2 separate regions of the Homo sapiens genome follow, and region 1 is linked to region 2. The links are contacts of gene promoters, found by promoter capture Hi-C in blood cells and fetal thymus (Javierre and others, 2016). All regions are on one chromosome and are shown on one strand. Each heading gives the region's core, a stretch centred on a gene start or on the middle of the fragment in contact. The rest is flanking DNA. Distances are from core to core; before and after follow the strand shown.

What was found. Contacts are between HindIII fragments. The CHiCAGO score rates a contact against its expected background, and 5 or more counts as called.
Region 1: a contact is called between the fragment with the promoter of TSPAN9 here and the fragment with the promoter of CACNA1C-AS1 in region 2, in 6 of 17 cell types (fetal thymus, naive CD4 T cells, activated CD4 T cells and 3 more). The highest score is 7.9, in fetal thymus.

The regions. Positions count from the first base shown.
Region 1 is chr12:3,072,705-3,079,146 of GRCh38, forward strand. It overlaps TSPAN9 (tetraspanin 9), which reads left to right and starts at 4,675. Exons shown (of 9, transcript NM_006675.5): 1 at 4,675-4,749. RefSeq lists an enhancer at 739-1,033 and silencers at 815-964, 4,181-4,230, 4,281-4,780. The HindIII fragment of the contact is 2,240 bases long and covers 3,229-5,468 here.
Region 2 is chr12:2,687,264-2,694,249 of GRCh38, forward strand. CACNA1C-AS1 (CACNA1C antisense RNA 1) reads right to left here and starts at 3,894. Exons shown (of 4, transcript NR_045725.1): 1 at 3,806-3,894; 2 at 3,544-3,716; 3 at 2,877-2,947. It overlaps CACNA1C (calcium voltage-gated channel subunit alpha1 C), which reads left to right. Exons shown (of 47, transcript NM_000719.7): 46 at 1,184-1,516; 47 at 3,637-6,986. The coding sequence ends at 3,936. RefSeq lists a silencer at 4,354-4,623. The HindIII fragment of the contact is 2,873 bases long and covers 2,800-5,672 here.

The DNA.
Region 1 (6,442 bases), core at 3,425-5,924, 390 kb after region 2:
TCTGGAACTCCTGACCTCAGGTGAGCCACCCGCCTCGGCCTTCCAAAGTGCTGGGATTACAGGCGTGAGCCACCACGCCAGGCCCAGGCGATTTTTATAGATGTGGAAACTACTATTCTGTACTGGTAGACATGAGAGTGGAACTCTTTTTTTTTAGACGAAGTCTCGTCCTGTTGCCCAGGCTGGAGTGCAGTGGCACGATCTTGGCTCACTGCAACCTCCGCCTCCCAGGTTCAAGTGATTCTCCTGTCTCAGCCTCCCGAGTAGCTGGGATTACAGGCCCGGCTAATTTTTGTATTTTTAGTGGAGACGGGGTTTCACCATGTTGGCCAGGCTGGTCTCAAACTCCTAACCTCAGGGGATTCACCCACCTCAGCCTCCCGAAGTGCTGGGATTATAGGCATAAGCCACTGCGCCTGGCCGAGAGTGGAACTCTTCATACATTCTACCTCTCACTCTACCCTCAGGTCATCTCCATGTCAGAGGGGTGGTGGAAGTCTCTTCAGGTGGAAGATTCCTCCGAAGTAACTTTGTGCATTACACTCTGGATGGAGCAGTAGTTAACTGTGCAGGCCCTCCAGCCAGACAACCTGGGGTTATATCCTAGCTTAGTCAATTGCTGGTGAAATGACCTTGGAGAAATTACTTAACCTGTCTCAGCCTCAGTTTCCTCATCTGTAAAAATGTCGGGATGGTGATGCTACTACCTACCTCATGGTGTTGTTGTGAGGATCAGTGGGTTAGAACATGTAAAGTACTTAGAACTGTGCCTGGCACATAAACAGTACATGTTAGCTGTTAGCTGCTTTGCAAGTCACTTGAAACCTATGGCCGAATGTGAAGTGTTGGCGGAACCCCGCTCCGGCAGCGTGCACTTTCGCCACTAGGTGTCGCAATTCAGCAGGCACAGTCCTGAAGCTTGACTTGGGGTGGTTGGCTGGGACTTTAATTTTAGCCTATTGTCATTTTTGATTTGATTTGGTGATTTCAAGGGGATAAACTGACATGCTATCCTTTGAAGTCCCTGGGGATCCAGAAATTCCAGCAGAGTTGCTGACATCCAGGCCTGGAAGGAGCTGTTTGGAGTCCTGCCTTTGTTCACAGTTAAAATGGCATATAATTTATCATCCACGCCAGGATATTTCGAGAGTGAAAGGGGACTTAGGAACTATGCCAGGACAAGAGGAGTAAGTAGGATGTGCCCCCGAAACCTGGATACAGTCACCCTACCTATATCTAACCTCAGCATTTTTCAGAATCTCCTCCAGAAGGGAAATGCAATGACATTTCCTCAGAAGCCTGGTATGATAAGCAGTGACTTCATGCGTTTGTAAGTCCCTTCCCCAAGAGGGTGGTGCGTCATTGTCAGGTTTACTTGCGTTTAGTCCTCAGTGGACACTATCAGTGTGTCTGCTTCACAGACCACTAGTCACCTTTGTGTCCTTTATGCTGAATAATCCCATCTCCTCTACAGCTTTTCTTCAGAGCTTCCTTCCAACTGTCAGCCCCTCAGAGGCACTGAGGCATTCACCTCTGAATGTGGTGAAGGAGAGTGAGCAGTGAAGCCATTTTCTGGGCTATTGCTGAGGGATTTCTTCTAAGATTTCATCTATCTCTAAGACTTCAGAATTCCATTATTTCAGATTTGCTCTAATTAATTAATTAATTTGAGACAGAGTCTCACTCTGTCACCCAGGCTGGAGAGCAGTGGTATAATCATGGTTCACTGCAGCCTTGACCTCCTGGGCTCAAGCAATCCTCTCACCTCAGCCTCCCGTACAGGCATGTGCCACCACGCCCATGCACACCTGGCTAATTTTTGTATTTTTAGTAGAGATGGGGTTTTGCCATGTTGGCCAGGCTGGTCTCGAACTCCTGGGCTTGAGTGATCCACCTGCCTTGGCCTCCCAAAGTGCTGGGATGACAGGTGTGAGCCACTGTGCTCCGCCTATCTTTTTTTAAAGGGCAGGAGGACTTTGGGAGGCCAAGGTGGGAGGATTGCTTGAGGCCAGGAGTTCAAAACTAGCTTGAGCAACATAGTGAGGCCTCTGTCTCTACAAAACAAAACGAAAACGAAAACAAAAACAAAAACAAAACAAACAAAAACCCCAATTAGCTGGGTATGGTGGCATGCACGTGTGGTCCCAGCTACTTAGGAGTCTGAGGTTGGAGGATCCTTGAGTCCAGGAGTTGGAGGCTGCAGTGAGCCATGATGGCACCACTGCCCTCCAGCCTGGGTGGCAGAACAAGTCCCTGTCTCAAAAACAACAAAACAAAACAAAAACCAAAAAGGGCAGGAGGAAGCTAGCATTTGTAGAGCAGTCACCACACATCACATGTTGTGCTTTTACTCCATCATCTTGGTCAGCCCATCAACCCTGTGGAATTGGTTTTTTTTTTTTTTTTTTTTTGAGACAGTCTCGCTCTGTCGACCAGGCTGGAGTGCAGTGGCACGATCTTGGCTCACTGCAACCTCCGTCTCCCAGGCTCAAGCAATTCTCCTGCCTCAGCCCTCCGAGTAGCTGGGATTACAGGCATGTGCCACCACACCCGGCTAATTTTTGTATTTTTAGTGGAGACGGGGTTTCACCATGTTGGCCAGGCTGGTCTCAAACTCCTGATCTCAGGTAATCCACCCGCCTCGGCCTCCCTAAGTACTGGGATTACAGGTGTGAGCCACCATGCCCATCCCCATAATTGGTATTCTTATGCCCCATTCCACAGGTGAGAAAACAGGCCTGAAGAGGTCCCAGCCGATAAAAGCAGAGCCAGGATTCAGACAGGTGTGTCTGGCTCCCAAGCCCTGCGGCTACTCCCTCACCAGGCTGCGTCCAATGGTCTGCCAGTGAGTTGGCTTGCTGGCAGACAATCCTAGTATATCTCTTTCCCTGTCTGAGACCCAGTTTCCTTTTCTGGGTACATGTACCCAACTCTGCCGCAGTGACTGGAGAGATTGGGGCTGGTGGGGGTTCCTTGGGAAGACTTTGTTATAGGGGCATTGAACAGGGCTTTGGATGAAGCAAAATGTAGAAGGAGAATATTTTCCTTGTGGGGAAAGGGAGATCAGAAGGAAATGGGTTATGGGTTTAGTCTAATAGACAAAAACAAGGTTGCATGTGTGTGACGGAAAGGGGCCCAGAAGATGAGTGGAAACTTCCAGTCTAATTAGCAGAAAGCAAAAGTGACCCTAGTGATTATAGCCAGGTTTTAAAAACTTGTCCCCAGTCAAGCTTAGTGCAATGGTAGGGCACGTGGGAAGCACAGCATACAGTTTCTTTAAAATTTAAAAAAATTTCACTTTTAAAGACAGGGTCTCCCTCTACTGCCCAGGCTGGAGTACAGTGGCATGATCCTAGTTTACTGCAGCCTCCAACGCCTGAGCCTCAGCCTCCGGAGCAGCTGGGACTACAGGGGTGTGCCACCACACCCGGTTAATTAAAACATTTTTTTTTTGAGATGGGGTTTCCCTATGTTGCCCAGGCTGTTCTTGAATTCCTGAGTTCCTGAGCTCAAGCAATCCTTCCACCTGGGCCCCCCAAAGTCCTGGGATTACACGCGTGAGCCACCACACCTGGCCTAGAAGACATTTTTGATGACAGTAATGATGAGAAGAGATGGCGTTTTAGTGCTCTTTGGAAACAAGTTTAGGCCTTCTAGCTTTAAGAATCCGGGCCTATAATCCCAGCACTTTGGGAGGCAGAGGCAGGAGGATGGCTTGAGCCCGGGAGTTTGAGACCAGCTTGGGCCCAGGGAGACCACCGTCTGTACAAAAAAAATCAAAAACTTCGCCGGACGTGGTGGTGCGCGCCTACAGTCCCAACTACTCTGGAGGCTGAGGCGGGATCACTTGAGCCCGGGAAGTCGAGGCTGCAGTGAGCCGTGATCGCACCACTGCACTCCTGCCTGGGCAACAGAGTGAGTCCTTGTCTCAAGAAAAAACAAAACAAAACAAAAAGCAAAAAACACATAAAATCCAGGCCTGAAAAAGCGCCCGGGCCAGACATGCCTAGCTGGAGTTTCTCCTGCCTTAGCGCACCCCTCAGGCACACGGTGCCCTGTAGTCGCCCTTGGAGGCCGCCAGCTCCTGGGGAGGCATGGCCCTTTCTGCGGGAGGTGTCTCAGGCAGGCTCCAACACACACCCGCGCTGTCAGCATCTCGCACAGTCCGCCCGAAACACCAGGGAAGGGGTTCGTAGGTGTGGGGGTGGGGTGGCGAGGCCAGGCAGCCTGGCGCGAGGGAGAGAGCCGAGGCCTGGGCCAGGAAGGCCCTTGGGTGCCGTGTGGGCGCAGAGCCCAGGAGAGCGCACTGCCAGGCCCGGACCTCCCCGCCCCTACCCCGGGAAGAGGCCCGTTCGCCGCAGGGGGAAGGCGGGATCATAGCACCTCGGAGGAGCGGCCGGTCCGGGCATGCGGGCGGCGGGGCGGGGAGGGAGGCTTCCGGAACCCCGAGAGAGCACCCGTGCCTCGCGGGCCCCGTGCCCCGTCCCCGGGCTCCCCTTCCTCTAACGCAGGGGACCCAGCCCGGGGCAGTGCCGGGCACTGGCGCTGGCGCCCCGCTCAGCCCTGCGATCCTTCTCCGCCCCGCCCCTCCCCGCTCCGCCCCGCCCCTCCCCGCTCCGCCCCCGGGCCGCCCCGCCCCGCAGGCTCGCCATTCCCGGGCAGGCCCCGCCCCCTGTTTCCGCTGGCGGCGGCGGCGGCGGCGGTGCCGGAGCGCGAGCAGAGCGGAGACCCCCAGGTCCTGCGGGCGCGGTGAGTGCGGCCCGGGCGGCGGGCGGCGAGGCGGGTCTCGAGAGCGTGCGGAGTCGCGCGGCCTTGAGCCGGCGCCGGGCGGGCTGGGCACCCCCAGGCCGAGACCCGAGAAGGGGGAGCGGCCGGGGGCGCCCACGGGAGGCAGTGTGGGCAGGGCGGCGGTGGGACGAGAGGACGAGGAACAGAGTAGGCGCCGTGCGGGAAGCGGGCCGGGAAGGGGAGGGTGGGTGCGGGGCCCGGGCACCGAGCGAAGTGGGGTCCTCCAGGGGATGGCTCCGAGGAAGACCGTTTCAGAAAGGGAGTAACCCGGGGCCGGCAAGGGTTTCCGACTGTGTGACCCCGTGCACCGCTTGGGACAGTCCATACAAGGACCCCAGAGAGGGCCAGGGGGCCTTCGGGCAGGGCTGGGATATGGCCTGCAGCCCCCCGGCACCCGCGACCGCTCCCTGGGCCACTGCTGGAAGATCAGCACTCCGAGTGACAGGACTCTGGCACATCCCGAAGTTGGAGATCTAGCCCATCTGTGCATTCAAGTTTGGGACTTCAAAAAACTTTCTTGTGGTTTTTAAAAAAAGATCCAAACAAGAAACCGGCTTGTTGTTGTAAGAGCAATATTTGTACTTGTACATCTTGGAACTGGAGTCTTGGATCTCCTCCCTCTTTGAAAAATATACGAGTCACTGCTTCATCTTCCCCCAAATGCCTGTTTTGTCTGGGGAAGCTTGGGCTAGTATGGGATCCCCTGAGCTACCTTTTTCTCGCATCACCAAAACGGGGGGTAAGAAGGCAGGGGCTTACCTGCCTTACCTGGTAACTCTTAGTTCAGAGACCCAGTCTCTCATTATGTGCGCGTGCCCTTCTGACCTGCAGCTGTCCTTTTCCCTGGGGTGACTCAGGTATTTCCTCCTCCAGGAAGCTTTCCTGGACTAGTGGAGAAAACTGAAGACTCATGCGAGGATCCCTATATATACCTGCCAGCTCCCTTCTCTTTACTGAAAATAGCCACAGAGAATGTTGAATATATGCTTTGCTATAGAGATACGCAGCCAGCTTGCCATCATAAGTAATGGGGAGGGGAGGAGAGGGATTATGGATAATTTCAAACAATAGCCTGGACAAATCATTTATATTTAGCTAAGGAATGCAGCCAGAGAGGCAGACAATTACACCGGCTTCCTACCCTCGGCTTGGTCCTGGCATGGCTGATGCAGCTGGGCTGTGGGTTGGAGGGAGAGGATTGGGGTAGATAAAACTTGAAGTGTAATTCAGTTCTACTCTCACTCACTGAAGACGCCCTGTGTGCAAGTCCCTGAACAGGTGAGAGTAGGATTTTTTTTTTTTTGGTCTGGTTTAATCAGATTTTAATATTCTGGCAGAGCTTTTTAAACCTATGAACAGATATTTAATATTAATAACAATAACTAGTGTTGATAAAGTAATTTATAGTTGGCCAAGTTTTTTCTATGCACGTTACATTAGCTGTATATAATTTTATTTAATTCATACGTAATCTTGTGAAATTTGTTACTTTTTTTTTTTTTTTTGAGACAGAGTCTCACTCTGTTGCCCAGGCTGGAGTGCAGTGGCAGGATCTCAGCTCACTGCAACCCCCGCGTCCCAGGTTCAAGCCATTCTCCTGCCTCAGCCTCCCGAGTAGCTGGGATTACAGGCGCGTGCCGCCACGCCTTCTAAT
Region 2 (6,986 bases), core at 2,644-5,143:
AAAGATTTCTAGAAGTCGATTTCACCTATCTGTTCTTGTCGTACTGGTAGGCACGAAACTCTCCTCTTCATCTCTTTCTCCTCCTGTACTCTGTGACCCTAGAGGTGGTCTTTCCCCACCACAGTGTCGCTCTCTCCCGGGAGCACATCCCATCAGAGCAGCTCACCCTGCAGAGCCTCTGCCCTGGCAGGTTGTCATGGCAACAGCCAGACAGGCCTGGTCCCTACCCTCAGGATGCTCAAGAATATTCAGGGACAGAGGGCGTACCGTGTGACTTTTTTTTTTTTTTTTTTGAGACAGAGTTTTGCTCTTGTTGCCCAGGCTGGAGTGCAATGGCACGATCTCGGCTCACCACAACCTCCACCTCCCGGGTTCAAGTGATTCTCCTGCCTCAGCCTCCCAAGTAGCTGGGATTACAGGCATGCACCACCATGCCTGGCTAATTTTGCATTTGTAGTAGAGACTGGGTTACTCCGTGTTGGTCAGGCTGGTCTTGAACTCCCGACCTCAGGTGATCTGCCCGCCTTGGCCTCCCAAAGTCCTGGGATTACAGGCATGAGCCACTGCTCCCAGCCCTGAATCTTTTAATCACAATACAGCACCGGATTTAACAATGGCTCAAAGACAACCTGAGCTAGAGACTGGCAGGGCATTATGAATGGCCCCATTAACTGTGAGAACTAAAACCACAAATACTGGTTTTCCCAACTCTTTGTGAGGTGCACAGCGCTTCTTCACAGACCTCATTGCGCTTGAGCCTCACACCAGCCCCACAGGGCAGATGGATAGACAGCATTCGTTTTCTGGCTTTACAGACATGCAGGCCTCACCCTGCTCTCCATTCTATTGAGGACAAAACCAAGAGCGAGAGAATGCACAGCTGACAGGTGACCAGGCCAGGGCTAAAAGCAGGTTACCACGACTTCACCCAATCCCAGCTTTCAGAAGTTACAGGAGAAAGAGATCACTTCAGACCCAGATGATCCTAAGATGTATTTTGAGATAGTTGAAAGTCATGCCAGGTTGAGATAGGACCGACAGGGGAAAATAATGGCATGGGAATACCAGGCAGGTGGAGCTAGCTGGACACAGCAGCTGCAAAGCAGTGCTTGCTCAGAAGCAGGGGCCTGCCTTGTTTGGGGTCGGCCACTCCTATTAACTCACACTCCTTGTGTGTCCGCAGGCATTGGCAGTGGCAGGCCTGAGCCCCCTCCTCCAGAGAAGCCATTCCCCTGCCTCATTCCCTAGGCCTTTTGCCACCCCACCAGCCACACCTGGCAGCCGAGGCTGGCCCCCACAGCCCGTCCCCACCCTGCGGCTTGAGGGGGTCGAGTCCAGTGAGAAACTCAACAGCAGCTTCCCATCCATCCACTGCGGCTCCTGGGCTGAGACCACCCCCGGTGGCGGGGGCAGCAGCGCCGCCCGGAGAGTCCGGCCCGTCTCCCTCATGGTGCCCAGCCAGGCTGGGGCCCCAGGGAGGCAGTTCCACGGCAGTGCCAGCAGCCTGGTGGAAGCGGTAGGTGACTCGCAGATGGGCAGGGGGGAGAGGCCACGGGCAACAAGGGGACTTGGCATGCGGGGCTGAGAAGGGAGCACCTGGCTCTTGCCAAATTCATTGCAGTCAATATCTGAGCCCGAAAGACCCTCCCTCTCAGGGCTGCAGGAGGGCTCGTGTGCGGAAAGCCATGACTGCACAAGATGCTATGGGCTCTCTTGAGGCTGGGCCCACTGCAGAGGGCGGCAGAAACCACTGAGCAACTTATCCCTTATACTGCAGCTGCTCGACATGCAAATGTGAGCCTGGCTGCCTTTATACACAGACAGGCAAGATCCAAGGTGCTCAGGCCTGACTGCCCGTGAGCATCACCTGGGGAGCTTTGGAAACCCGGGACAGATTAACTGATGATTGTTAAAGCTCTTCGATGATTTTAACGTGTAGCAAGGTTGAGAGCCACTAGCCTAGAACAAGCGAGCTTTCAGTCCCACTGTGCTCTGCCTGGTCAGAGCATCTAGTGCAATCCCGGCACCACATTATTAGGGACCTTTGACACACTGGAACAAACCCAACAGAGGATGACCAGGATGGCAAGGTTCCTAGAAACCATTTCCTAGGAGAACCGTTTCAGGGAATTCGGGAAGAAAACCTGGAGAGGAGGTGACTTTGGAGGGTGCGATACACCTCTCACACCTGCAACGGGTGGGATGGGGAAAGGGTGGCAGGCTCAGCCCACCAGCGGACAGATTTCAGCTCACATGGGGAAGACCTTCCCAAATGAGCTCTTCCAAGATGAGAGGGGCTTGCCTGAAAGGTAGTGAGCCCCCCATCATCAGACATAGCCAAGCAGAGACTGTGCTCATCCGGGCGTCAGGCTGTGGTGCAGGAGGTGGGGCGTTAAACCAGGTGGCTTCCAAGGTTTACCTCTCAAAGTCTGGTATTCCTGTGGCCTCGATCATCCTGCATTCATTTCACAGACCTTCCCTGAGCGCCTACCATGTGCAGGCCCTGTTCTAGGTACAGGGACACAGCTGAGAAACAGAGCTTCTGCTCTCATGAGCTCACATCATGGTGAGGAGAGACAGATAATAAACACATACATATATAACACATCAGGAAGGTCAGGAGTGCCAAAGAAAAACTAAGCAGGGCAAGGAGAGAATGAGTGGCGTGGGCAAGGAGCAAGACAAACAGATGCCTGAAAGGAGCGAGTGCCAGGCTGCACTCAGCTTCCCCCGACCCGCTGGCTCAGGAGCCGATTTTCCCATAGCCAGGCACTAAGCAGCCGGTAGGGAGGACAGAGAAGCTTAAGGGTCACCTGCTGGCCCTTCCCAGCAGAAGCAAGGCAGGGGCATGCGCCGTGTTTGCACAGATACCTCACCCCTGGAAAGGCAGCAGCAGGCAATGGGCAGTGGGCCTGTCTCAGCAGTTTCACCAGGGAGAATGGTTTCTCTGAAAGAATAGTATAAAGGTTCAGTGGGTGTCAGAAAGGAGAGAGGCAGGCTGGGATCTGCTGATACAGCATCAGGGCAACCCCCCGGCCCCTCTGAGAGCCAAACCTTCTCTGGTTTTTGTTTTGGTTGTTTTTTGAGACAGGGTCTCGCTCTGTCACCCAGGCTGGAGTGTAGTGGTACAATCACAGCTCAGTGCAGCCTGGCGCTGCTGGGGTCAAATGATCCTCCCACCTCAGTCTCTGGCCTTGCTAAGATCACAGGTGTGCATCACCACACCCAGCTAATTATTCTTAAATTTTTTGTAGAGACGAAGTTTCCCTGTGTTGCCTGGGCCTGGTCTCGAACTCCTGGGCTCAAGCAGTCCTTCTGCCTGGGCTTCCCAAAGTGCTGGGTGACAGGTGTGAGCCACCGTGCTGGGCCATAAGCAAGTCTTCATATATTTGATGACAGTGTTTGACCACCCCAGCCAAAACTTCTCTGGCCTGCACATCCCTAATTCTGGCAGATGCTCCATCTCCACTTGTTCCCCATGGGTGCCCCTCCCAACACACACACGTACACGTGCACACACGCACACTTCCCCAAGTGACCTACCAGATACCCCCTCGCTCTAGCCCTCAAGGGAAGAGCTGGGCTCCAGGAGTAATGTTCCTTTGGTTCTTCATGGCTCCCACCCCGCTCCTTCAGGTCTTGATTTCAGAAGGACTGGGGCAGTTTGCTCAAGATCCCAAGTTCATCGAGGTCACCACCCAGGAGCTGGCCGACGCCTGCGACATGACCATAGAGGAGATGGAGAGCGCGGCCGACAACATCCTCAGCGGGGGCGCCCCACAGAGCCCCAATGGCGCCCTCTTACCCTTTGTGAACTGCAGGGACGCGGGGCAGGACCGAGCCGGGGGCGAAGAGGACGCGGGCTGTGTGCGCGCGCGGGGTCGACCGAGTGAGGAGGAGCTCCAGGACAGCAGGGTCTACGTCAGCAGCCTGTAGTGGGCGCTGCCAGATGCGGGCTTTTTTTTATTTGTTTCAATGTTCCTAATGGGTTCGTTTCAGAAGTGCCTCACTGTTCTCGTGACCTGGAGTTAACCGGAACAGCGTCTTCATTCATTTCTGTTGGGACCAGACGCGGAGCCTGGGTGCGCGAGCCGCCCTCCGGGAGGAAGGCGCCCGGCTGCGTCTGCAGAGGCGGGGAGAGGAGGCGGCGAGGGTCCCGGGGCGCGAGGAAGGCGCCTGCCCTCTCCCAGCTCGCAGGCCCCGGGCCCGGCCGCGCCTCCGCGGGGAGAGCACCCCGGCTTCCCGCGCGCCCTCACCAAAAGGACCCTACAGCAAACGGGTGTCTTTCGACTCTGCTTGTAGAAACCATTTGCACATATTCTGTACGAGCCTCGCTGTCTCCCTAGAGCCAGGGCCCTGCGGATTTGGAGAAGGGAGCGGGGCAGGACTTCCAGGAGGACCCCAACCCGGCCCGGAGAGGGAGGAGGAGGCCTCCAGGGGCGCGGAGCTCTGGGGATGGGCGTCGGGCCGGCAGTGGTGCGGCTCACTCCGTCCCTGCCCACCTGCGACGGGATCCCCCGACCGGCACGGGCCACGCCGAGCTCCCGGCCAGCCGCCGGCCCGCAGGCAGCGCGAGGGAGGAGCTGCGCCGCCGGCTCCGCCCAACCAGGTGGTGCTGAGCTTCCGCTGAGCGCTCTTTTGTTTTGTGGTTTGACACTTTTCTTGACAGCATGTTGCAGTTTCTTTTCGGTTTTGGTTTTTTTTAAATGTTTTATTTTGCTTTCCCAGCGGGAGGGGAGGAAGAAGAGTGTTTACAAAGTCCTGTAGCCCCCTCACCTTTCTGTTTTCACTTTTGCCAATGTACATCGGGTTTGGTTTTCTTGTATTATTTAAACGGTTGTGGTTTCCTTTTTCCACGGAGGTTCAATAGAAGCCGCTGCAGGAGAGTTTTACCAACCATTGTGTATGCCCAATAATTTGTTATCATTTCCTTAGGTAGTAACCTATTTTTGTTCTGGTTTGGTTCGGTTATCTAATGGAAAGGTAACTGGCAATGCACTTGATGTGGTCTTGCACATGTGGGTGATAGAGTTGGGTTCCTTTTTATGCTGGGTGTACAGGTGGGTTTGGGAGAGAGGAGCATGCGCGAGAGAGTCTCCGAGTGTGTGCGACGCGTGTGTGTGTGGTGGGTTGTCTGTGTGCATATGTCCTGCCCGTGTATATGCACCCACACCATGTGCCCGTGCACACCAGTGACTACGCAGTCCCCCCTTTCTGGTTTAGCTGTGGGAAGATCTGAATCTGGGGCCGTTTGAAAGCAAAAACAAACCACTGTCTCTGCTTCTGAAACGGGAATCAGTAACTCTTTGCATTTTCTGTCCCACAAGATATGCAAAAACAATGCAATAATATTCATTTAAAAATACAATTGTGAGTTGTGTTGGCATTAAAACTGTATTTTAAAAAAAGACAGAAATTTAAGGGAAAAACACAAGAAGGCATTTTGCTTCAATATATTCCGTGTAATGTTTTATTGCATTGATAATGTTTCTGTTGAAGAAACCGTTATACTTGAATTCAGGTCAGTTTCAGTATTTTTCAAATATTTTTTTAAAACTGAATTGCAATTGTGCCAAGCGAATATAATGAATTGAATTAAGTTGGTTTTCGGATTCACTTCTTGTATATTTTGCTGCATGTAAAGTAAATCATTTTGTATTTGGAGTGTGACAAGCTTTACCTTTGAACTCAAGTGCTTTTCTATATGTGGTTGGGGGAAAGGGAACAAGTTTTCTTTAGTTTGCACAATGAGCAAAGGTATCACCAGTGTAGTCATTATTCTGCTCTCCACAAACAGGTTTGGACATTACTGTTTTGCATATCTTGTGTTTGCTTACATTTCCCTCAATTTTTCCAAAATCGTTTGCTGGGTATGTTTGTACCGCCTCTTGCTGTGAGAGACCAGGACCTATTTTATTCCAGTCTTCACTCTGTCCACTCTGCTCTGGTCATCTGATTTGGTACTTCTCCAAGAACAGCCCTTCACTGTGAGGTGCAGGGAGGCGTTCTGATGAGCCCTCAGTCACTGGGCCGTCATCCGCATCCCCCATGGAAGAGGTAGCTGGCTTTCCCTTCCCTTCCACCACACGGAATTTTCTCTTTGGCTTCCTTAGGAAAGTGTACACTAACCGGGAGGATAAAATTAAAGTCAGGCTGCTTGGAGGGAGGGGCATCCTCACTTCCGGATTCTTGTTGCTCTACCCAACAAGGACAGCAGGGGCTCGAGAAAGGAACTGGTGAAACCCTGATCCATCTGAAAGTCAACTCTGCGTGCTCCTTTCTCCATCCCTTCCTCACTCTGGAGCAGCCTTTCCTTCAGGCTTGCCCTAATGTTTGGGCTGCCGGGGAGGGGGCCAGGACAAGGGAAGAGGCATCCGGAGCTCACAGTGGGGGTGGGAACAGATTTTTGTGGGGGCATCTCTAATGCTCACTTATATCTCCCTAGAACATCACTCTTTTGGTGCTGTGTCCTTCAAATGTATGTCAACAGTGGTGGCTGAAAAGGGACTGCTTTGGGGAAAACAGGACCCAACCATTCACCCAGAATTGACCCATTAAATCTCTTCCAGTCCTAGTGTTCCCTGAGCCCCTCTTGGCACATATATAAGTAAGCTAGAAATTACAATAAGGGACAGTCCATTCCTCTATGACAGCTTGCTGGACTGATTCATGACAAAGTGGAGAAATGTACTCAATACTCCCCGGTTAACACAGTCTAGAAACAGAGTTTCTTTATGGATATCCACACCCAAGTCATCCAAACTTTCTTGATTCCTTTTCACTGCCATCAAGGTCCTCTAGAAATTGAGTTTAGGTATCATCCTTTGAAAAGTTCCCAAGATTTCTACCAGGAGGTACACACAGGCGTTCCCTGTCTAGGGCAGGAGGACTATCCTAGCTTGACCTTCTGATCCACTAGAATAAGACTGGCGTATGATGCCTGTCATCAGAACAGACTGGCACAAGTAGTGACATCAATGAACCAC